Regions from separate parts of the Homo sapiens genome. Here regions 1, 2, 4, 5 and 6 are each linked to region 3. The links are contacts of gene promoters, found by promoter capture Hi-C in blood cells and fetal thymus (Javierre and others, 2016). All regions are on one chromosome and are shown on one strand. Each heading gives the region's core, a stretch centred on a gene start or on the middle of the fragment in contact. The rest is flanking DNA. Distances are from core to core; before and after follow the strand shown.

Region 1 (3,902 bases), core at 1,072-3,571, 300 kb after region 3:
TAAAGGACCAGCATGTTGCCGATGGAGTAGACCACTGCCTTCTTGCTTGGACCAAGCCCTCTTTATACTCCTCTTAGCAGCAAAGCTGACTGTCTTCTTGCCAACTGGCAGGGCTGAGGGTGCAAGGCAGGGAAAATCACAAGTGACATGGAAATACAAATGAAAATATTTCTTTTCAAGTAAACTAATGTATCTGTTATTCAAAGACAGAACAAGGCCAGGGCTGAATTAATCATCTGCTTTTAATTGAAAAGCATCCAACAAACTCTTTTTCAGAAATAAGATGGAGAACCAGGGCTGGTTTTTCTCTAAGGGAGCACCCCTTGTCATCCATCACTCTCTCGTTGTCCTCAGTGGCACCATAAATGCAGAGACTTGCCCTGTGCACTAGCAGCTGGAGGCCAGGGGGATAGTGGAAGAGGGGGGAGTGGTTAGCAAGGGCAAGGAAGACACAGCAACTCTCTCTGCCCAAAGAGGGAGATGGCACATGCCCCCAGGATGCAGGCATAGGTGTAAATGCAGACACAAAAGCCAAATAGATGCAGTGGAGATAATTCTGGGGGAGGAAAGTACTGAGAAACAGGCTTGGGCCCTCTCAGATGGAGAGCCAAGAAGGGGCTCCCAGAGGAGAATATGAGGCAGGGTAGAGGAGGGGATCCTTGGGATGTGAAGACAGTCTGAGGGCTATGAGGGTAGATGGAGGGTGGAGGGCAGAGGGAGAACGAGGGTAGGAGCCGAGGTTCCTGCAGGAGATGAAAGGCTTTGTTCATCACAGTTCGTAGAGGAGAGAGAAGGGAGTTGCGGCCGGGCGCGGTGGTTTACGCCTGTAATCCCAGCACTTTGGGAGGCTGAGGCGGGCGGATCACAAGATCAAGAGATCGAGACCATCCTGGCCAACATGGCGAAACCCCGTCTACTAAAAATACAAAAATTGGCCGGGCGCGGTGGCTCATGCCTGTAATCCCAGCACTTTGGGAGTCGGAGGCGGGCGGATCACGAGGTCAGGAGATTGAGACTACTCTGGCTAACACAGTGAAACCCCGTCTCTACTAAAAAAATACAAAAAATTAGCTGGGCGTGGTGGCAGGCGCCTGTAGTCCCAGCTCCTCGGGAGGCGCAGGCAGGAGAATGGCGTGAGCCCGGGAGGCGGAGCTTGCAGTGAGCCGAGATCGCGCCACTGCACTCCAACCTGGGCGACAGAGCGAGACTCCATCTAAAAAAAAACAAAAACAAAATACAAAAATTAGCTGGGCATGGTGGTGCGCTTCTGCAGTCCCAGCTAATCTGGAGGCTGAGGCAGGAGAATCGCTTCAACCTGGGAAGCGGAGGTTGCTGCACTCCAGCCTGGAGACAGAGCAAGACTCTGTCTCAAAATAAATAAATAAATAAATAAATAAATAAATAAATAAATAAATAAATAGAGAGAGAAAAGAGTTGCAATGTGCCTTGAGGTGGGCAGAGGACCCTTGGGTTGGCCACAAAATGATCAGAGCCACTGCAGGCTCCAGAGCAGAGGACTGTGGGTGCAGCAGTCATGGTAGCAACGCATGGGGTTTGGAATTAGGCAGGGAGAAGCCAGGAACCTAGACAGAAGCAGGACCATCACCTGCCCACCCAGGGCTTTTGTTGCCTAAACACTCCAGAATCCAAGCTTCATGGCTGCAGGGGTGGGAGAAACCTGGAAAATGCTCTTTGAAGGAATCTGCACAGTCACTTTTTCAGTGTCTAGAGCTGTTCAGAGGAGTTGCACTTTGATGCTCAGATAACCTGAAGAGCTTGCTCTCCAGCCTGCCCTCCAGCATTCTGGCACACTCAGGGAAGAGGGGTGAGCTGCGCTAGGGAACCCGGGGCCTCTTTGGTCATTCTCCTCCCGCTTCCCTGCTTCCTCTGGCCTCTAGCCCCAGGATGAGGAGTCCAAGAGGAGGCTTGAGGGCCTCCTGAAGGTTACCTCTTTACATCACAGCAGGGCCAGATCACCTGAGGTCAGGAGTTCCAGACCAGCCTGGCCAACATGGTGAAATCCCGTCTCTACTGAAAATACAAAAATTAGCCAGGCGTTGTGGTGTAGTCCCTGTGCTTGGGAGCTGTAATCCCAGCTCCTTGGGAAGCTGTGGCAGGGAGAGTTGCTTGAACCCTGGAGGTGGAGGTTGCAGTGAGCCGAGATTGTGCCACTGCACTCCAGCCTGGGCAACAGAGCAAGACTCCATCTCAAAAAAAAAAAAAAAAAAATCTTACTCTTAGGGTTAGGCATAGACAATGGCTTAAATTTTTTCTTTTTTTAAGACAGGGTCTCATTCTGTTGCCCATGCTAGAGTGCAGTGGCATGATCTCAACTCACTGCAACCTCCATCTTCTGGGCTCAAGCGATCCTCCCACCTCAGCCCCTCAAGTAGCTGGGACTACAGGTGCCAGCCACCATGCCCAGCTAATTTTTGTATTTTTTGTAGAGACGAGGTTTCACCATGTTGCCCAAGCTAGTCTCAAACTCCTGAGCTCAAGTGATTCACCCACCTCAGCCTCCCCAAGTACTGGGATTGCAGGCATGAGCCACCCGCCCAGCCAGACAATGACTTAAATTTTGAGGCATTGCATTTCTTCTGACATTGCATACCAATTCTAGGAATGAATTCTTTTGAGATAAACACTGGTCGGGCATGGTGGCTCATGTTTGTAATCTCAGCAATTTGGGAAGCCAAGGCGGGAGGACTGCTTGAGGCCAGAAGTTTGGTATCAGCCTGGGCAACATAATGAGACCTTGTCTCTACAAAACATGAAAAAAACATGGTGGCGCATGCCTGTAGTCCCATTACTTGGGAGGCTGAGGTGGGAGGATCCCTTGAGCATGGGAGGTCGAGGCTGCAGTGAGCCATGATTGTGTCACTGCACTCCAGCCTGGGTGACAAAACAAGACCCAGTCTCAAAACAAAACAAAACAAAAAAACAGGCAGAAAAATAAATGTTCGAGGTTGTGGGTTACAGTATAGTTTGTCACAAAGCTTGTTGCAAAATTGGAAAAAAGCTAAGTATTCATCAGTAGAGGAAGACTGAATAAATTGGGTTTAACCCTGCTATGGAATACTATATAGCTTTATTATTTTTTTGAAACAGAGTCTCTCTCTGTCACCCAGGCTGGTGTGCAGTGGCACGATCACAAATTACTGCAGCCTTGACTTTCTGGGCTCCAGCAATCCTCCCACCTGAGCCTCCCAAGTAGCAAATTTCACTTTTTTAAACCTCACTTTTCTAGATCACTTGACTTTTCTCCACAATATTACTTTAAAAAAAACAAAACAAAACAAAATGGAGTCTCTCTGTGTTGCCCAGGCTGAAGTGCAGTGGCACAATCTTGGCTCACTGCAACCTCCACCTCCCAGGTTCAAGCGATTCTCCTGCCTCAACCTTGCGAGTAGCTGGGATTACAGGTGCCCACCACCACGCCCAGCTAATTTTTGTATTTTTAGTAAAGACGGGGTTTCGATATGTTGGCCAGGCTGGCACAGTATTACTTTGGTAATTAAAAATAAGAATAAATTCTGGGACATCTAGCTATTTGTGGCAATGGCCCCAGTACTCTTCATGTGGGAAACAGATCCCCAGAGAGGCCTAGCTCTTTAATGCTAGAGTGAGAGACTCCTAGAGCCGGGAGATAGTAGCACAGGGCTAGCAGCAGGGTTTTAAGAGGTAGGGGCCTTAGGTTAGCTGAGAGTGGTCAGAGGGGTGGGTTTTAAGGAAGAATACGGGTGTTGTTAGGGCCAGGCCAGGCTTGACTAAGGAAAATGCCATGAAGAAGCTAGTTTCTTGTTTGTTTGTTTGTTTTTTTGAGACAGAGTCTCACTCGGTCACCCAGGCTGAAACACAATCTCAGCTCACTGCAACCTCTGCCTCCCAGGCTCAAGCGATTC
Region 2 (3,849 bases), core at 351-2,850, 270 kb after region 3:
TACTACTATTATTATTATTATTATTTTGAGACAGAGTTTCGCTCTTGTTGCCCAGGCTGGAGTACAATGGCGTGATCTCAGCTCACCACAACTTCCGCCTCCTAGGTTCAAGCAATTCTTCTGCCCCAGCCTCCTGAGTAGCTGGGATTACAGGCATGTGCCACCACGCCTGGCTAATTTTGTATTTTTAGTAGAGATAGGGTTTCTCCATGTTGGTCAGGCTGCTCTCGAATTCCCGACCTCAGGTGATCCGCCCGCCTCAGCCTCCCAAAGTGCTGGGATTACAGGTGTGAGCCACTGTGCCCGGCCTGTTTTATTATTTCTATTTGTTTATTCTCCTAAACTATAGGCTCCTTAAGGTTTAGGTACTTGCTTTGTTCATTTGGATTTCTCAGTATCCAGGAACTAGATATTTAATAATTGTAACAGGAAGGAGAGTAAGACTGATCTAGGAGAGGATATAGGACTGAATGAGTGGAGCCTTGGAGTAGGATTTTCTAGACTGAAATAGAGTATAGGGGCTAGGCGCAGTGGCTCACGCCTATAATCCCAACACTTTTGGAGGCCAAGGCGGGTGGATCATCTGAGGTCAGGAGTTTGAGACCAGCCTGACCAACATGGTGAAACCCCATCTCTACTAAATACAAAAAAAATTAGCTGGGTGTGGTGGTGCACGCCTGCAATCCCAGCTACTTGGGAGGCTGACGCAGGAGAATCGGTTAAAGGGTTGCAGTGAGCCAAGATTGCGCCATTGCACTCCAGCCTGGGCAACAGAGCGAAACTCTGTCTCAAAAAACAAAACAAAAAATTAAATTAAATTAAATTAAAAAAGAAAAAAAAGGCCGGGAGCGGTGGCTCACGCCTGTAATCCCAGCACTTTGGGAGGCAGAGGCGGGTGGATCACGAGGTCAGGAGATCGAGACCATCTTGGCTAACACGATGAAACCCCGTCTCTACTAAAAACACAAAAAATTAGCCAGGCGTGGTGGTGGGTGCCTGTAATCCCAGCTACTCAGGAGGCTGAGGCAGGAGAATGGCATGAACCCGGGAGGCGGAGCTTGCAGTGACCCGAGATAGCGCCACCGCAGTCCGGCCTAGGCAAAAGAGCAAGACTCCGTCTCAAGAAAAAAAGAAAAAGAAAAAGAAAAAAGAAATAGAGTATAAAGGGTGACAGCAGAAAGAGGATTCCAGTTAGAGACAACAGCATCAGGAAAATCATAGGAGTACACAGCTTCACTAGCTGGTTCAGCATGGCTGTTATGGGGAGTGGTGGGGAATGAAGCTAGAAAGGGAGACTGGAGTTTCATTGTGAAGGGCTTTGAATGCCATGCAAGAGTGCCCAGATCTGGGGAGTGTGGCAGGTTCTGTGGAGAGACTCTGATTCATATCTCCATTCTTTTTTTTTTTTTTTTTTGAGACAAGTCTTGCTCTGTCGCCCAGGCTGGAGTGCAGTGATGCCATCTCAGCTCACTGCAACCTCTGCCTCACCGGCTCAAGCCATTCTTCTGCCTCAGCCTCCCAAGTAGCTGGGATTACAGGTGCCCACCACCACGCCTGGCGAATTTTTGTATTTTTAGTAGAGACAGGGTTTCGCCATGTTGGCCAGGCTGGTCTTGAATTCCTGACCTCAGGTGATCTGCCCACCTCAGCCTCCCAGTGTTGGAATTATAGGCGTGAGCCACTGGGCCACCAGTATCTCCATTCTTAATCCGGGGGTGTGTCTCATTCCTGGAGCTCTTGCTGTAGTGGATAAGATCAAGCATTCTGGAGTTAGACAGATATGGGCTCCTATCTTGGCCTTTCTACTTACTGACTGTAAGTCTTCAGGCAAGTCATTAAAACTTTTGAGCCTCGGTTTACAGAACTCCCTTTCCCCCATTAGATAATATTTATCTCCTTGAGTTGTCAGGAGGATTAAATGATATTTTGCATGTAAATTGCTTTCTCAGAGCTGCCCTACAAAGAGCACTCAATAGGTACTCACTGTCATTATGTTTAGTTTTGCTCCCTTGCCTGTAAATGCTTATATTTTTGGTTTGGCCATATCTGTTTGGTTTGGCCATATCTGTTTTTGTCCGTCTCTAACTGCACCTCACTTGCCACCCAGCCCTGGATGTGCAGTCTGCCATCCTCCCTGGCTCCACCCTTCTCAGCTAACAAAACACTGTTCTCTACCAGAAAGTTGCAAAACCACCTTGTTAGTGGTAAGTGCAGCTCTTAACTTCCTTTCTGCTACCCCTCCCTTCCTTTGTCCCTAATTTGGTTCTTCTTAGGTGGAGAGGACAGAAAAAACAGAAAAGAGAAAACTCAGTCTAGAGTCAGTGTAAGGGATGACTGGGGCAGACCAATCTCCCCAATCCCCAAAAGGCTCAAGGCCAAAAGGCTTGGAGAGTGTGGGGTCGGGGGTTGGGGGGTACTGAGAGAAACTTCCTCACCCTCCAACTCTGAAAGTGAAAAGGTGTTACCACCCTGAAACATACCCCAGTACTCTGGAGCCAAAGTAATTTGTTGCCATAAGCAACAGGTACATGTTAGGGCACTTATACTGTGTCATGGGTGTTCTTCCCAACGAAAGACCCTTGAGGGAACAGGGTGTACAGATGCTAAACAGATGTTTGTTGAAACAATGAATAAATTCTACTTTTGGATCACTTCCTAATGAAAACCCATATAATGCTAATCCCTAAAATCCTGCTTTGAGAATTCTGTCCCAATTTATCTGGCCTGGCAGCTAAATTAGAATATAGATATTTAAGGAGAAAGAGCAAGAGCAAGGCAAAAAAGTAAATGTGGCAAAACGTTAACACTTGGTGAATCTGCATGAAAAATATTCCAGTGTTCATTGATTATTTATAACTTTTCTGTAGATCAGGGTTGGGGTGGAAATAGAGCTTTAAAAAAAATTACTACATATATCTTTGGTGGCTATAGTTCCCTACCATTGCCTCTCCCATAATCATTTATTATATTTTAGTTAATTCCCTCAATTGGGGTAATTTGCATAGGGCCTGGATATTTGATATTATAAAATTTTGCTAAAATTTTTTCTTAGGTGCAGTAAATTTTTGTGGTTATGTAGGAAATCTTTCTCTTTCCTTCCTTCCTTCCTTTTCTCCCTCTCTTTCTTTCTTACTTTCGAGACAGAGTCTAGCTCTATTGCCCAGGCTGGAGTGCAGTGGCACAATCTCAGCTCACTGCAACCTCCACCTCCCAGATTCAAGCGATTCTCCTGCCTCAGCCTCCAAGCAGCCAGGACTACAGGTGTGCACCACTAGGCTAATTTTTGTATTTTTTGGTAGAGATGGGATTTCGCCACATTGGCCAGCCTGGTCTCGAACTCCTGGGATTTCGCCACATTGGCCAGCCTGGTCTCGAACTCCTGACCTCAGGTGATCTACCCACCTCGCCCTCCCAAAGTGTTGGGATTACAGGCATGAGCCATGGCGCTTGGCCGGAAATCTTTATTTTTAGGATATATGATAAAGTAAGCTTTCCTTAAAAGGTCCTAATATACTTTTTCCAGCCTTTGCTCTGACCACTCCCTGTGCTCCAGCTGAGCTGTAGTTCTCACTCCAGTCTCCATGCCTTGCTTATGCTGGCACTTCTCAGCTAGAATGCTCTCTGATCACGTGTCTGAAAAACTACTAATCTCCCATAATTCCTATTTCAAATTCAGCCTCCACTATAAAACCTCTCGATTCTCCCCAATCCTTTTGTCCTCTGAATAGACCTGCATCTCTCAGGTCAGTTATTTTATTATCATTATTCTTTTTTTTTTTTTTTTTTAACTAGATCTTAAGCTTTTGGCAAAGCAAGAATGTCTCTTACCCCTAAATTCCCTGCTGGGTC
Region 3 (4,135 bases), core at 1,488-3,987:
CTTCCCCTCTACTCCATCCTTTCAGACACAGTTCCTTCCTATTTTCTCCACAAAATTCTGATTTTGTCTCCTTTCCAAGAGAGTTCCAGAATTTTAGAGCTGAACATTCTTGAGTAGTTGACATGACTCAGAAGCTACCTGAAGATGGCTGGGCACGTTGGCTCACGCCTGTAATCCCAGCACTTTGCGAAGCTGAGGTGGGCAGATCACCTGAGTTCAGGAGTTCGAGACTAGCCTGGCCAACATGGTGAAACCGCGTCTCTACTAAGAATACAAAAATTGGACTGGGTGTGATGGCTCACACCTCTAATCCCAGCACTTTGGGAGGCCGAGGTGGGAGGATCACGAGGTCAGGAGATCAAGACCATCCTGGCTAACATGGTGAAACCCCGTTTCTACTGAAAATACAAAAAATTAGCCAGGTGTGGTGGTGGGCACCTGCAGTCCCAGCTACTCGGGAGGCTGATGCAGGAGAATGGTGTGAATCCGGGAGGCGGAAGTTGCAGTGAGCCGAGATTGCGCCACTGCACTCCAGCCTGGGCAACAGAGCGAGACTCCGTGTCAAAAAAAAAAAAAAAGAATACAAAAGTTGTCTGGGCATGGTGGCGGGCGCCTGTAAACCCAGCTACTTGGGAGGCTGAGGCAGGAGAATCACTTGAATCCGGGAGATGAAGGTTGCAGTGAGCTGAAATTGCGCCACTGCACTCCAGCCTGGGTGACAGAGTGAGACTCTGTCTCCAAAAAAAAAAAAAACAAAAAAAAAAACTACCTGAATATGAAGACCATGTCTTAGTCAACTTTTTTTTTTTTTTTTTTTTTTTTGAGACAGTCTCACTCTGTTGCCCAGGCTGGAGTGCAGTGGTGCGATCTTGGCTCACCTCAACCTCCGCCTCCTGGGTTAAAGCGATTCTCCTGCCTCAGCCTCCCGAGTAGCTGGGATTACAGGCGCCCACCACCACATCCGGCTAATTTTTGTATTCTTAGTAGAGATGAGGTTTCACCATGTTGTCCAGGCTGGTCTCGAACTCCTGACCTCGGGTAATCAGCCCGCTTCGGCCTCCCAAAGTGCTGGGATTACAGGCATGAGCCACGGCGCCCAGCCGTCTTAGTCAACTTTCTATCCCGTCCACCCCATCTACCCAACACTTGTGAAGATCCAGGGCCATCTTTTAAAACTTTTCCTCTGACTGCACGAGTGGTACAGTCATTAATAACCTGTGCTAATATAAAGCTCTGTGACCCATAAAGCATTATACAGATGTGGGAGCTTTCACAGCTGTATTCTCTTTGGATCCTCAAAGATTTCTTATAAAGTAGGTACTATTATAAGGGAAATAAACTCAGAGCTAAAGTGACATATCCAAGGTAACATTCACTAAAACAAACGTCAATGCCAAGATTGAACCTATATCCAGGGAACCCACATGGGATGCTCTACCACCTTCCATGAAGAATAAATATTCATATATATCCAAGAGGACTGTTAATTCTTGGAGGCAGTTAAGTACCACTTCTGGGAATCCTTCTTAGTTTCAAGTATGAATCTATTCAAACATGTTTACTGAACACCTACTATGTGCTAAGTAAGGCACCTAGTGTTGGAGGTGCAGCAATGAACAAGGCAGAGAAGATGCTTACCCTCATTCTAGTTCAGGGAGCTGTCAAACAAGGACACAAATACATAAACACTGTAAGTGACAGATGCTACAAAGAAAATACAAGGCCGGGTGCAGTGGCTCACGCCTGTAATCCCAGCACTTTGGGAGGCCAAGGCTGGCGGATCACTTGAGGCCAGGAGTTGAAGACCAGCCTGACCAACATAGTGAGATCCCGTCTCTACTAAAAATACAAAAATTAGCCGGGCGTGGTGGCGGACGCCTGTAATCCCAGATACTCGGGAGGCTGAGGCAGGAGAATCGCTTGAACCCGGGAGGCGGAGGCTGCAGTGAGCCAAGATCGCGCCACTGCACTCCAGCCGGGGCGACAGAGCAAAACTGTCACAAAAACAAAACAACAAAACAAAACAAAACAGAGTAACATGAGAATAAGTGTGAAGTGTGTCCTTTTCGCCGGCACTGCTTCAGATAGGGTGGTCACAGAAATCCTCTCAGAATAGTAACATTTAAGTTGAGACAGAGCTTGGTCTTCGGTAGGTGCTTAACGAAAACCATTTTCCCACAAACTTAGTTCTGGAAACGACAAAGAGAGGAAAAAGTGTACTCAGTCCGCACAGGGGCCGCTCCCAGGCCTCCAACCTTCGCCGCCAGACTGACTGGAAAGTGGACAGTTCCCGGCCTATCCACGCCGGCACCATTAGAGGGCGCCGCGGGTCCTCCTAGCCCCAGGCACTGGCAAACTGACATCTGCTACCTAACAGTCGAGGCTCCGACGCCCCGAGTCCAGGCAGAGGGCAAGGGCGGCGCTGGGAAGCCCTGAGGCCCTAAGGAATCGCGGAGGGTCACTGGGCGCCTCAAGGACAGGGTGCCCTCCGCGTCGCAAACCCACACCAGTGGCATAAGAACTCGCTCCCTCTGGGACACCCTGTTTCCGGCGCCTTTAAACCTGGAAGTACTGCTGTGTCCAATCCTGGCCCTCCTTCCGCACTTAGTCTTTGAGTCCTTCCCTCTCCTGGCTTGTGCTGGAGCCAAGCAGGCTATGGCTACCAATCAGCGCTCAGAAAAGACGCATGCGTCTTCGAACGAACGCGACGTACGGTTAACTTTGACCCAAAGACAACCTCTTCTCTCCCGCTTCTCTCGCTGTGAAGATGGCGCTCTCCAGGGTGTGCTGGGCTCGGTCGGCTGTGTGGGGCTCGGCAGTCACCCCTGGACATTTTGTCACCCGGAGGCTGCAACTTGGTCGCTCTGGCCTGGCTTGGGGGGCCCCTCGGTGAGGGACCTGTAGCGAGAAAAGCATTTTTGACGTCCAGGCTCTTTCAGTGTCTCAACCTTGCTTGCATTCTGTCTCTTAATTCTCAGAGTTCCACGCCTTGGCCCTGGAATTTTTATTCTTCTGTTCAGGATTCAAACTCCGATCCCCACTAGTGACCCGGCTTCCTGACCCTCTGTACTCTCAGTGCCCCATATTGTCTGGTTTCCCCGCGTGTCCTGAGCTCATCTTTCAGCCTCACTTTTTCGGCTCAGGTTTTACCGCTGCTATCTCGATTCCACCTCTTTCTGACTTAGCCTGCAGTTCAAATTGTCCCACAGGCATTGCGCTCTCTCCAGAGGCATACCCTGAGTTACTTTCCTGCCTGGCCTTTGCCTGATTTGTGTTTCACAGTCTGATTGCCTATCTCTTCTTGACCCCAAGACCTTCCTTGGATTTCAGAAGTGTCAAGCCTTGGGATACAATCTCCGAGACTCCTGCTTTACATTAGGGACTCAAGGCGTGAGGGAGCTTCTAGGACTGATTCCCAGATAGTCTCTTTGATCTTCCTTGTAGGTCTTCAAAGCTTCACCTTTCTCCAAAGGCAGATGTGAAGAACTTGATGTCTTATGTGGTAACCAAGACAAAAGCGATTAATGGGAAATACCATCGTTTCTTGGGTCGTCATTTCCCCCGCTTCTATGTCCTGTACACAATCTTCATGAAAGGTAAAAACGAAACTACAATAGAAATTCCGGAATCAGCTCTTGGGCAGGGTCAAAGAGTTAGCATAAATAAGATCATTTGCAGGTTCTGCTATGGGGATGTGAGCCGAGATATCTTATATTTCATAAATGCCTGCGCCTTAAACTAATTCCTATAAATTAGCACTTCTTGAGAATGTTTCTAGAAAGATGTTATGAGAAACAACTTATGACAGCAACATGAGGGAGGGAGAATATAGGTATGTTCTCGTACTTTCTTAACCACACACCTGGCTATAGTAGAAATTTTTTGCCTTGCACACGGCAGGGATCTGTGGCTGTATAGACCTGCCCTGTGATGTATCAGTTGACTTACCCATAGGAAAATGAGGTCTAACCCTTGTTATGAATCTATATTAGGTAGTATGTTGTAGTGGCAATAGCCCTACATAATACTTGGTTTCTAAATGTTTTGTTTCAAATCAGAGATCCTTAGTTACTAGGAGAAGATATGTATCGTGTCAAGTGTCTACTCTGGAGCCAGATTGCCTGATTCAAATCCC
Region 4 (3,694 bases), core at 95-2,594, 270 kb before region 3:
TATATGATTCTATAGTATACTGTAAACATTCTGTATCATATTTAATTTTAACGGACTTTTTTCCCCCTTATAGTTGATTATGGAAGATTCCCACAAGAGTACCACGTCAGAGACAGCACCTCAACCTGGTTCAGCAGTTCAGGGAGCTCACATTTCTCATATTGCTCAACAGGTAAGGGAGGGACTGGCCAAAATACTGAGCTTGTTAGGAATATTTTATATGCAGATTAATCTCGTTTCAGACTGATTATTAATGTGTTTTATTTTGGTTTTTGTTTTTTGGGTTTTTTTTTTCGAGGCAGATTTTTGCTCTAGTTGCCCAGGCTGGAGTGCAGTGGCATGATCTCGGCTCACTGCAACCTCCACCTCCTGGGTTCAAACAATTCTCCTACCGCAGCCTCCCAAGTAGCTGGGACTACAGGCATCTGCCACCACGCCTGGCTATTTTTTGTATTTTTAGTAGAGATGGGGTTTTACCATGTTGGCCAGGCTGGTCTCGAACTCCTGACCGCAGGTAACCCACCCACCTTGGCCTCCCAAAATGCTGGGATTACAGGTGTGAGCCACCAGACCTGGCATTAATGTTAAAAAAAAAAAAAAACAAAACAAGCAAAGGCCAGGCGCAGTGGCTCACGCCTGTAATCCTAGCACTTTGGGAAGTCAGGGCGGGCGGATCACGAGGTCAAGAGTTCAAGACTAGCCTGACCAACATGGCGAAACCCTGTCTCTAATAAAAATCAAAAATTAGCCAGGTGCAGTGGCGGTTGCCTGTAATCCCAGCTGCTCGGGAGGCTGAGGCAGGAGAATCGCTTGAGCCTGGGAGGTGGAGGTTGCAGTGAGCACAGACTATGCCACTGCACTCCAGCCTGGGCAATAGAACGAGACTCCATATCATAAAAATAAATAAATAAAAAATAAAATAGAAAAACAAGCAAAAAAGACTGTATAAAATGTTAAAATATAAGAAAAGAAGGTGGACTTTAAATATCTTGTCAAGATCATTTAGTTTTATTTTCTTTTAAACGAAGTATATAGTCATCTCTCAGTATCTGTGGGAGACTGGTTCCAGGACGTCCACAGATACCAAGATCTGTGATGCTTAAAGCCCCTGATAGAAAACGGCATGGTATTTATATATAACCTACATATTTTCCTGTATACTTTAAATCATTTCTAGATTACTTTTAATACCTAATACTATGTAAATGCTATGTGAATAGTTATACTATATGACAAGAAAAACAGTCGGTACATGTTCAGTATAGAGAAATTTTTTTTCCTGAATATTTTCAATCTGTGGTTGGTTGAATCCACAGATGTGAAACTCATGGATGCAGAACCCATGAATAAAGAGGCCTAACTGTATTTAGAGTTGTTTTCTTTGTTTTTGTTTTTGTTTTTCAAGGCAGGGTTTCGCTCTGTCGCTCAGGCTGGAGTGCAGTGGTACGATCTCGGGTCACTACAACCTCCGCCTCCCGGGTTCAAACGATTCTCCTGCTTCAGCCTCCCGAGTAGCTGGGATTACAGGCGCCCACCACCACACCCAGCTAATTTTTTGTATTTTTGGTAGAGACGGGGTTTCACCTGTTGGCCAGACTGGTCTCAAACTCCTGACCTCAGGTGATCCACCCACCTCAGCCTCCCAAAATGCTGGGATTACAGGCGTGAGCCACCGTGCCCGGCCAAAAAATTTTAAAAATTAGCTGGGTGTGGTGGCACTACAACACCTGTAGTAACAGCTACTTGGCTGAAGCAGGAGGATTGTTTGAGCCCAGGAGTTCAAGGCAGCAGTGAGCTATAATCATGCCACTGCACTCCAGCCTGGGTGACAGAGTGAGACCCTATCTCCAAAAAAAAAAAAAAAAAAATCATGCATGAGTGTAAGAGCCATTTAAAGTGCAAGATGAGACTAACGGATTTTAATGTTAACAATACACAAAGTTCAGACTGTACATGGCAAATAACCTTTAAGAAACTATAACTTGCTGAGTTTTGCTGCTGTATCAAAGAATACAATGAAATGAAAAGGCTTTTAAAACACTACACATCTTTTCTAATTGCATATCTATGTGAGGGCAGATTTTCTTCATATAATTCAACCAAAACAATGTATGATAACATAATTAATGTAGAATCAGATAAGAGATTTCAGCTGTTTTCTTTTTCTGTTTTTTTTGTTTGTTTGTTTATTTGTTTGTTTGTTTTTTGAGACAGTGTCTCGCTCTGTCGCCCAGGCTGGAGTGCAGTGGCGCGATCTCGGCTCACTGCAACCTCCGCCTTCCAGGTTCACGCCATTCTCCTGCCTCAGCCTCCCGAGTAGCTGGGACTACAGGCGCCCGCCACCACGCCCGGCTAATTTTTTGTATTTTTACTAGAGACAGGGTTTCATCGTGTTAGCCAGGATGGTCTTGATCTCCTGACCTCGTGATCCACCCGCCTCAGCCTTCCAAAGTGCTAGGATTACAGGCCTGAGCCACCACACCCGGCCTTTTTTTTTTTTTTTTTTTTAGTAGAGACAGAGTCTCACTATGTTGCCCAGGCTGGTGTCAAACTCCTGGGCTCAAGTGATCCTCAGCATCCCAAAGTGCTGGGATTATAGGTGTGAGCCACTGTGGCCAGCCTTTTTTTTTTTTTTTTTTTTGAGACGGAGTCTTGCTCTGTCGCCCAGACTGGAGTGCAGTGGTGCGATCTTGGCTCACTGCAACCTCTGCCTCTTGGGTTCAAGTGATTCTCCTGCCTCACCCTCCCGAGTAGCTGGGAATACAGGTGCCCACTGCCACGACCAGCTAATTTGTGTATTTTTAGTAGAGGTGGGGTTTCACCATATTGACCAGGCTGGTCTTGAACTCCTGACGTCAAGTGATCCACCCACCTTGGCCTCCCAAAGTGCTGGGATTACAGGCATGAGCCACTGCACCCGGCTGATTTCAGCTGTTTTCTATTAAGCCAGATATTAAGGAAATTTGCAGAAATGTAAAACAATGCCATTTCTCTCACTAATTTTTTTTGAAAATGTATTAATGGAAATAGGTATGGTAACGTGTAATGGATTGTTATTGTATTTTGAAATGAACTGCTAATTTTTTAAATTTAATTTTAAATATGGTAAGTATTAATAAATATAACTGAAATAATAATTTTGGGGGGTCCTCAATAAGTTTGAGAATGTCAAAAGGATTTGTGACCAAAAGGTTTGAAAACCAGTGACCCAAAGGGGTTAGTCCTTTAAGCTTGATATATCCTTCTGCCTTATTTGGCTATATCTGTGAAGAATAGCAGTGTCTTCTCCAGATGGTGCTAGAAAAATAAGGTGGAGTCTTTCTTTGATTATTTTTCTGTTAATAGAGCACTTTACAGAAATGTTCTAATTCAGTTGGCTTACTTATATCTATATTTCAGTTATTTTAGTTAGATGTGACTCTTCAAATTTCCTCAGAAGCATATTTACGGTGAAGTGGAATAAATACATTTCTAGATAGTAAATCATTTTATAGTGATTTTTAAAAATAATATGGTTGGCAGGCTGGGCACAGTGGCTCATGCCTGTAATCCCAGCACTTTGGGAGGCCGAGGCGGGTAGATCACGAGGGCAGGAGTTCAAGACCAGCCTGGCCAAGATGGTGAAACCCCGTCTCTACTAAAAATACAAAAATTAGCTGGGCATGGTGGCATGCACCTTTAATCCCAGCTACTC
Region 5 (4,293 bases), core at 209-2,708, 320 kb after region 3:
ACGATGTCTGGGCTCACCACCACTGTCTTGTCCTCAGCGATTCGAGCCAGGAGGGGCTCCAGCCAGCCGTGGAAGCACTCACCTGCAGGCCCCAACCAGGAGGCAGCAGTCAGGGCCCTGCCCACAGCAGAGCCCAAGCTGCATCCTGGAGGGAATGCCCAGGAGGATAAGAGACAGTCCACCTACTCCTGGGTTACAGGCAGCAAGCCCCACAGCTACAGGGAGCACACAGAATTTCCTAAAACCCTTCTACCACCCCTCTACCCCCAAAGGCGGAGGCAGCTTTGGCAGGGAGAATGGAGGTCTCAGGGGAGTAACATGGTCAACTCAGATGACCCAAAAGCACAGGGAGGCCCTGGATGGTATCTTCCGGGGTTCCAGCCGATCCATTGGCCCAGCCCTCCGGGCCCACGTGTGGATTTCAGAAGAGGGTGTTCCCCCTCCCAGGGGCATCCGCATGTCAAGCTTCAGCCCTAATTGTAGAAGAATAATCTCTTTCATTTGTCTAGCTCCTTGAGATTTTCAGTGAGCTTCTGCACGTATTATTACTTCATTCGGCCCTCAGAGTAATATTTCTGTTCAGTAAGGTTAGTATCCTCATTCCTATTTTATAAATGAGGAAACTGAGGCTGTTAGTGGGGCAGGGTCAGAATGCAAACCAAGAATTCTGACTCCAAGACTAGAGCTTCCCCTAATATATATCACCACTCCTAGGGAAAATATTTCATCCTCCACAACAGTGGGGAAGTGTTTTGGTTTTGGGCAAGAAGGAGGCCTTCCTGGCTCCATGTTGCCCTAGAAGAAAGCCCCAAACAAGCCAGTTCTGTCATAGCAGGAGGCCTCTCTGAGGGGCCAAGCTCAGAGCAAGGTGCAGATGGGAGTACAGGGAGGGATGAATGTCCGGGGCCCCGGTGATCACTGGAAATCACTTCCAGTGATTTTGGGGTCACCAGTTGTTTTAGGGATGTTTGTCTTCTTGATGAAACATCCTTGGGATTGGGGTGAGAAAGGGGTAGAGGCACCTGGAGTGGGTCCCAAGCCTCCTTCACTCCCGGAAGAGAGAACAGGAAGGGGCCTTGGGGAGGCTGTGGCCCTGGCTCATTCTAGCAGGGAGGGAGCCTCCAGGTTACACCCAGGCCGGTGCCCTGGTACTCACAGTGGGCATCCAGGAACGTGAGCACCTCCGCCTGTGCCACGCTGGCCCCCAGCAGCCGGGCGGTGATCAGCCCCTTCCGCTCCTCCTGCCGCACCACCCTCACCACCTGCAGCTGCTTCACGTACTGCTCCAGCTTCTCCTTTAGGTGCTCTGGAAGGGACAGTGTCATTGTGGCCAGTCCACCACTTTGCTGTATACCCAATCCCCTGTGGGCACCAAGCTAGGGGCTCTCAGGCCTCTAGCAGGCCTGAATTTTAAACCCCCAACACCTGCTGTACTGAGCCATTCCACAGAAGCCGGAGCTGGGGAAGGAGGTTAACAGGGAAGATGGGGAGAGGAAGAAAGAAGCCCTGTCTGTGGTCAAAACTGCCTCACCAGGGCTCTGGCTCTGTGGTGCTAGATCCTATGCCTGTTCACCTGGGCACCCTCTCTAATGTCAGGGACAGCACCTCAGAGTTGTGTTTCTGTGGTCACGTATCAAGTACAAACTTTTTGTTGTTGTTGTTGAGATGGAGTCTCATTCTGTCACCCAGGCTGGAGTGCAATGGCGTGATCTTGGCTCACTGCAACCTCCACCTCCTGGGCTCAAGTGATTCTCCTGCCTCAGCCTCCTGAGTAGCTAGGACTACAGGTGTGTGCAACCATGCCTGGCTCATTTTTACATTTTTAGTAGAGATAGCATTTCACCATATTGGCCAGGCTGGTCTCGTACTCCTGGCCTCAAGTGATTCGCCTGCCTTGGCCTCCCAAAGTTCTGGGATTACAGGCATGAGCCACCACGCCCGGCCCAAGTACAAAATTCTGACAGAGGCTCTCAGATGCCTCCCTCAGTTTCTCCACCCTCTCAGCCACCATCTTCCAGAGCTGCAATTCCACAGCTCCATTGCACGGTTGTTTTCCAGTGTCTAGGATTCCCTGTCTCCCAGGCTCTTCACGGTAACGTCGATGGGTGGGCATACACAAATGGTGACTCCTTGCTTGCTGGATCAGCAGCAGGACATCTGACTCTAATCCCCTTTGTAACCTCCTCTGCAGATAGAATTCTTTAAGGTGAAAACATGCCCAGCAGCTTTTTAATTATATTAAGAAAATACTTGCACCAAGCACCTACCACGGACCAGGCACAGTGGCGAGCCCAGCCGGCTTGACCATTTGTCCTAAGGAACAAACCACCCAGAAGCAAGGCTGACCAGGAAACAGGCAATTCCAGGGCAGGTGATCCATGATCTAACAGAGGTAGTGCTGGGGTGTGGGTCCCAAAGAAGGGCCAAATCTCCTGGATTTGAGGAGCGGGGAAAGCTTTTTGAAGGGAAGATGTCTCTACTGAGACCTCCAGCTCCTTTCAAAGAAGAGTTTTAGTTCATGGCCCTGTAATTTAGTCTGAAATCCTCAGAGCATTAACAATAGCTCTATTCTGGCTGGGCACGGTGGCTCACTCCTGTAATCCCAGCACTTTGGGAGGCCAAGGCAGATGGATCACTTGAGCCAAGGAATTTGAGACCAGCCTGGCCAACATGGTGAGACCCTGCCACTATTAAAAATACAAAAATTAGGCCAGACGCGCTGGCTCATGGCTGTAATCCCAGTACTTTGGGAGGCGGAGGCAGGTGGATCACCTGAGGTTGGGAGTTCGAGACCAGCCTGACCAACATGGAGAAACCCTGTCTCTACTGAAAATACAAAATTAGCTGGGCACGCATGCTTGTAATCCCAGCTACTCGGGAGGCTGAGGCAGGTGAATCGTTTGAACTTGGGAGGCAGAGGTTGCAGTGAGCCGAGATTGCACCATTGCACTCCAGCCTGGGCAACAAGAGCGAAACTCCGTCTCAAAAAAACCAAAAACAAACAAACAAAAATTAGCCAGGTGTGGTGGCGCACACCTGTAAACCCAGCTACTCGGGAGGCTGAGGCAGGAGAACTGCTTGAACCCAGGAGGTGGAGGTTGCAGTGAGCTGAGATCATGCCACTGCACTCCAACCTGAGTGACATAGCAAGACTTGTCTCAAAACAAAAAACAAACGAAGAATAGCTCTATTCTGAAGCAGTCCATCTTGAAACATACCGAATTCCAAACCTTACTATGTTTTACTAACTGCCATTTTGGTTTATCTCTGCCACGGTTCTGTTCTGTGCAGAATGGAGTTGCCTGCAGTTTCAGATGTGGGGGACAGATGTGACAATTGTGTGTCCTTTTCCTTTTGGACTGTGGGATCAGCCCAGAGCTTGGGCCTTGCTCTGAATGCAGCATTCTACAAACGGCAGGTCCTGAAATTAAGCAGCTTAGGGGGTTGCATGCAATTGATCTCCCACAAATGCACGCACACAATAACCCAGCACTGAGCTGGAGTGTGTGCCGGTGTGGGTGAGGTAGGTGTCTTCATGGTGACTTCTTTATTTAATCTTCTCTATGATAGTTAACAACTCTATGAAACAGGGAGTATTGTCCCCAGTGTTTATAGATGGGGAAAGTAAGACTCAAAGTGACTAGCCCAGGGTGGCAGAAGCACAAAGGGCAGCAGCAGGATCCTAGCCAGTCTGCATGTGAGGACTCCCCACCTTCTCCCTCCAGGGGAAGTGAGGCCATGGAATTTTTTTTTTTTTTAATTTTTTAATTCTGGAGCAGATTAAGATCAGAAGGCCAAGGACTTAATGCACCTGAGTTTCAAGGTGGTCTCTTGACCACCAGTGAGGCCACGGACTTTTTTTTTTAAATTTTTTTATTCTGGAGCAGATTAAGATGAGAAGGCCAAGGACTTAATGCACCCGAGTTTCAAGGTGGTCTCTGCTTCCTCTCGCAGTCACCCAAGGCCTTGCCATTTCCCTGTGTGTGAGATCCCGGGAGGGAAAGGGAGAGAAAGGGGTTTGTTGAAGCTGTTCTTTAGTCACTGTCCTGGAGAGTGGCGCCTAGGAGAAGGAAAGTCTCTATAATTTGGAATTTCAGCTTTTTCCTTCTTTTTTTTTCCATGTTTTTTTTTTTTTTCTTCTTTTTTTTGGAGACAGAGTCTTACTCTGTCGCCCAGGCTGGAGTGCAGTGGTGCAATCTCGACTCACCACAACCTCCACCTCCTGGGTTCAAGCAATTATCCTGCTTCAGCCTCCCAAGTAGCTGAGATTATTGGCACCTGCCACCACGCCCC
Region 6 (4,195 bases), core at 1,303-3,802, 320 kb before region 3:
GGACTCCCCAAGACTTATTAACCTTCATCTCCAGAGGTGGAGACCACACCACCAGTATTTTTAAATACAGGATTCCTGAGCTTCTAGTGACTCTGATCTATAAACAGGTTTAGGCATAAAATCACTGCCATTTTGTATGAGCCAAGAGTTTAAGCTTTGTGGCTATAGATGAGACATGATAGGAACTCTGTTCCTTCCTGTTTTTTCTTGCTTAAAAACAAAAAAAAACATTGTGTTGATAGTTCTTCCTGTGATGGACTGAATATGGATATGAGGATCCATATTTCCTTTCTGTCCTTTTTTCTTTTTTTTCTTTTTCTTTTTTTTTTTTAATCAGTGTCTTGCTCTGTTGCCCAGGCTGGAGTGCAGTGGTGCAGTCTCGGCTCACTGCAACCTCCACCTCCCAAGCTCAAGCGATCCTCCCATCTCAGCCTCCTGAGTAGCTGGGACTACAGGTGCACACCACCACACCTGGCTAATTGTTTTGTAGAGACAGCGTTTCGTCATGTTGCCCAGGCTGGTCTTGAACTCCTGGACTCAGGCAGTCCGCCTGCCTCGACCTCCCAAAGTGCTAGGATTATAGGTGTGAGCCACCACACCCAGTCCCATTCCTTCCTTTTTATCCTGGGATACACTATTGGGTTCAAGCCTGTTATCACCTCTCACCTGAACTATTGCAGCCTCTCCTAACTGTCTCTCAAGTTTCAGTGGCTCGTATCACCAATCCCTACTCCGTATGTCCATATTGTCAGTGTTGCCCCAACTTAAAGTGGCAATGACTGCCTGCTGGGTGAAGTCTAAACTCCTTCATAGGATGGTTAAGCCCTTTCACAGTTTGGCCTTAGCCCTTCTGGCCTTACTTCTCCATTCACCCTGTATGCTACGATTTCAGTTGAATACTCTTTCTTTTTCTTCTTTTTCTTTCTCTCTCTTTCTTTTTTTGTTTCTTTCTTTCTCTCTCTCTCTTTTTTTTTTTTTTTTAAAGGAGACAGGGTCTCAATCTGTCACCCAGGCTGGAGTGCAGTGGCACAAATCACAGCTCACTGCAGCCTCTCGGGCTCAAGTGATCCTCCCACCTCAGCCTCCCAAGTAGCTGGGACTACAGGTGTGTGCCACCACGCCTGGCTAATTGTTAAAAAAATTTTTTTTGTAGAGGCATGAGTTTTGCTCTATTACCCAGGCTGGTCTTCACCTTCTGGGCTCCAGCGATCCTCCCATCATGGCCTCCCAAAGTACTGGGATTACAGGCGTGAGCCACCGTGCCTGGCCACTTGAATACTATTAATATTTCTGATCGCTTCAAACATGCTGTAATTATCGGCCTTTGTAAATGTTGTTCCTCTGCTTAGAACACCCTCACTACCGTCCCCACTTCTTCTGGCCACTGCCAAATTCATACTCATTCTTCAAGCTGCAGCTCAAGTGTCACCAGCTCAGTGAAGCACTACCACTCCCCTACCCTGGCTTATCGAGCTTGAATGAACTGCTCTTTATTCTGTGATGTCAGTGTTCTTGATTCACATCTCATATTCAGAGCATCAATAAAATGGCTATAAACATCTTTAAAAGAAACCATAGGAATAAAATCCAGTCCACACATAAGGTTTCTGAATAGAAAGAGGAAAAAATGCTACTCCATCAGGGTTTTAAAGATTAGTTATTAGGAATTACCTTTCCAGAATGTTTAGTATCATCTTGACCATATTAATTAGCTTGAGGGCAGCTGTAAGAATGTTATGTAGACTTAAGTGACCTACCACAGTCTGCTTTATTTCATAGTTGCTCCTTTTGCGAGTTGCATAGGAACAAGACTGATTCTTAGAGCTTTATATCTCATATGTCCCTACACTGTCCTTTACACTCAGTAAATATCTGTGGAATTGGTGGGGTTCTGAAGCATCAGGTATCCAGGATGAATTGATGATTCCAGCTCTTGTCTCTTTCACTGCAGTGTCTATTCAGGCCACCAGTCTGTCTTAATTCCTCCTATGGAGTTAGAGAACAACCTTTTCCTCTGGCTCTCCACAGTCAACCAGTACAAAATAAGGGACACTTTCTGCTCCTATTCAGTGATGGAGCTCTGCACCAAAGGTCTTGGGAACCAAGTGGAAGTGCTAAAGGTAAGAAGCAGCTCCAGCAGGTGGCCAGTCCCAAAAGGTTCTGAAGAAATGCGCCAGGACGTAACAGGGCCAGAGCAGGGGCTAACAGACATGTTTGCTTGCCTTTTTCAAGTCACTCAGTTAAAAAAGGGTGTATTTTAAACTTTGGCAAGTTTATCTCTTCCACCTTCCTAATTTAGTGCACTCTTCCACAGTTTAATATGATTCTTACTTTGTGGACAAGAAGCGGAAACTGGTTGGGAGGCTAACTGGAAAGACTTTATGTAAACATAAAAGGGAACTGTGGCTTCCAATACTTTTTTTTCCTAATAGAATTTGAAACCTCAAAATATTAGGAATTCAGAATATCTCCAAAGATAAGGGTAACTCATTGATTCATGTGTGTGTCAAATGATGATCTGTCTGACTTGCAGATGAGAAAGTCAGAAGATACTGAATTTTCTTTGATAGAAAAATATCTTTGGAATGCAAAAAGAGATGAGATTAGATCGCCAGAGTTCTAGATTAATTTTTCTCTCAGTCTCATCAAATAGGGGGACATCTAAGGTACAGAAATGAGGAGGGATAAAAACATTGCTGAAGAGCCTTAGATTTTTAGAAGAAAGAGGAAAGAACTAGAGAATGAGCAAATTTACCAGCAGATAGTGATTTTAATGGGATGCCTTGTCCGTTTCTTCTTTTCTGAAAGCTGCTTTTTTCTCTGTGTGCCTGAGGTGAGAATACACAATTGCTTGGCTTTTCCTGACCAAGGAGCTAGAACAGTGGCCTTACCTGTTCAGTTCTTTTATGATCCTACTGACTTGGCTCCCATATAATGGTGTCTTGCAGACCAGAGGGATCAACCTCTCCTGCGTCCGGACCTGTGTGGTGGTGGCGGAGGAGAGGCCCCGCGTTGCACTCCAGCAGTCCTTCTCTAAGCTCTTCAAAGACATCGGGCTGTCCCCGCGGGCTGTCAGCACCACTTTTGGATCAAGAGTCAATGTAGCAATATGTTTACAGGTGACCCTCATGAAATCTTGTCTGTTGACAAATGGGAGAGGAATATGGAGTATCCCAGAGCATGGGCTTTGGAGCCAGGCTGCCTGGGCTTGGGCCCCAGCCGCACTTACTTGCTTTGGAACTTCGGGCTTTTAAATCTCGATTTCTTTGTGTCTCATTTTGCTCATCTGTAAGGTGAAGGTAGCAGTACTGTGCTTCCCCAGGCAGCTTGCACAATCACTGAGCTGCCAACTCGGAGTTCTTGGAGCAGTGCTGACAGTGAGCGCAGTGTTGGTGTTTACTTGAGTCATCGTCGTGTGGTCATGATGACGAGTCACAAAGATTTGAGTCCTATTTGGATTTTACTTGTATCTGACCTGTTTTTCCTTTTTCTTTTTTTTTTTATTTGAGACGGAGCCTTGCTCTGTCACCCCAGCTGGAGTGTAGTGGTGCAGTCTCAGCTTACTGCAACCTCCACCTCCTGGGTTCAAGCGGTTCTCTCACGTCAGCCTCCAGAGTAGCTGGGATTACAGGCGTGTACCACCACGCCCGGCTATTTTTTGTATTTTTAGTAGAGACAGGGTTTCGCCCTGTTGACCAGGCTGGTCTCAAACTCCTGACCTCAAGTGATCCAGCCGCCTCAGCCTCCCAAAGTGCTGGGATTACAGACATGAGCCACCGCGCCCGGTCTGACCTTCTGTTTTTCTGTCTCTATATTCTATACCATTTTTTTTCTTTCTTTTTTTTTTTTTTTTTCCAAACAATAACCTTGTATTCTCTTCTCTACCCAGATGGCAACTTTGTCATGTTATTCTTGATGGGTAAATAACAGAAAAGGGACTAGAACTGAGACTAATTTTATGTATTAATGTGTAATAAGGCAAATATAGCGCCAGGTGTGGTGGTTCATGGCTATAATCCCAACACTTTGTGAGGCCAAGGCAGGAGGATTGCTTGAGCCCTGAAGTTTGAGACCAGCCTGGGCAACATAGTTGAGACCTCATCTCTCCCCTACCCCCACCACTCACCTGCAAAAAATATAGATGGGCTTAGTGGTACATGCCTCTAGTCCCAGCTACCTGGAAGTCTGAGGCAAG

The links. The method cuts DNA at HindIII sites, captures the fragments that hold promoters and counts their contacts. A CHiCAGO score of 5 or more calls a contact.
Region 1: a fragment that was not itself captured here is called in contact with the fragment with the promoter of LETMD1 in region 3 in 16 of 17 cell types (megakaryocytes, endothelial precursors, activated CD4 T cells and 13 more); the score reaches 12.9 in megakaryocytes.
Region 2: a fragment that was not itself captured here is called in contact with the fragment with the promoter of LETMD1 in region 3 in 14 of 17 cell types (naive B cells, erythroblasts, neutrophils and 11 more); the score reaches 8.2 in naive B cells.
Region 4: a contact is called between a fragment that was not itself captured here and the fragment with the promoter of LETMD1 in region 3, in 3 of 17 cell types (M1 macrophages, erythroblasts and M2 macrophages). The highest score is 7.3, in M1 macrophages.
Region 5: a fragment that was not itself captured here is called in contact with the fragment with the promoter of LETMD1 in region 3 in 10 of 17 cell types (naive CD4 T cells, M0 macrophages, naive B cells and 7 more); the score reaches 8.4 in naive CD4 T cells.
Region 6: a fragment that was not itself captured here is called in contact with the fragment with the promoter of LETMD1 in region 3 in 1 of 17 cell types (erythroblasts); the score reaches 5.1 in erythroblasts.

Annotation. Positions count from the first base shown.
Region 1 is chr12:51,346,625-51,350,526 of GRCh38, forward strand. CELA1 (chymotrypsin like elastase 1) reads right to left here and starts at 55. Exons shown (of 8, transcript NM_001971.6): 1 at 1-55. The coding sequence starts at 14. The HindIII fragment of the contact is 1,345 bases long and covers 1,650-2,994 here.
Region 2 is chr12:51,316,867-51,320,715 of GRCh38, forward strand. All of the region lies in intron 1 of BIN2 (bridging integrator 2), which reads right to left. Among named protein-coding and RNA genes, the nearest start is that of BIN2, 5.4 kb to the right of the region's middle. RefSeq lists enhancers at 2,019-2,078, 2,359-2,528 and a silencer at 3,779-3,849. The HindIII fragment of the contact is 3,774 bases long and covers 1-3,487 here.
Region 3 is chr12:51,045,590-51,049,724 of GRCh38, forward strand. LETMD1 (LETM1 domain containing 1) reads left to right here and starts at 2,738. Exons shown (of 9, transcript NM_015416.5): 1 at 2,738-2,889; 2 at 3,445-3,596. The coding sequence starts at 2,768. RefSeq lists enhancers at 2,013-2,132, 2,183-2,262, 2,353-2,622, 2,444-2,982, 2,733-2,782 and 1 more. The HindIII fragment of the contact is 4,204 bases long and covers 1-3,452 here.
Region 4 is chr12:50,780,067-50,783,760 of GRCh38, forward strand. It overlaps ATF1 (activating transcription factor 1), which reads left to right. Exons shown (of 7, transcript NM_005171.5): 2 at 74-172. The coding sequence starts at 80. Among named protein-coding and RNA genes, the nearest start is that of ATF1, 18 kb to the left of the region's middle. The HindIII fragment of the contact is 3,767 bases long and covers 1-3,228 here.
Region 5 is chr12:51,364,274-51,368,566 of GRCh38, forward strand. GALNT6 (polypeptide N-acetylgalactosaminyltransferase 6) reads right to left here. Exons shown (of 12, transcript NM_007210.4): 5 at 1,157-1,306; 6 at 1-82. Among named protein-coding and RNA genes, the nearest start is that of CELA1, 20 kb to the left of the region's middle. The HindIII fragment of the contact is 1,990 bases long and covers 464-2,453 here.
Region 6 is chr12:50,729,418-50,733,612 of GRCh38, forward strand. DIP2B (disco interacting protein 2 homolog B) reads left to right here. Exons shown (of 38, transcript NM_173602.3): 31 at 1,952-2,120; 32 at 2,949-3,119. Among named protein-coding and RNA genes, the nearest start is that of ATF1, 33 kb to the right of the region's middle. The HindIII fragment of the contact is 4,800 bases long and covers 153-4,195 here.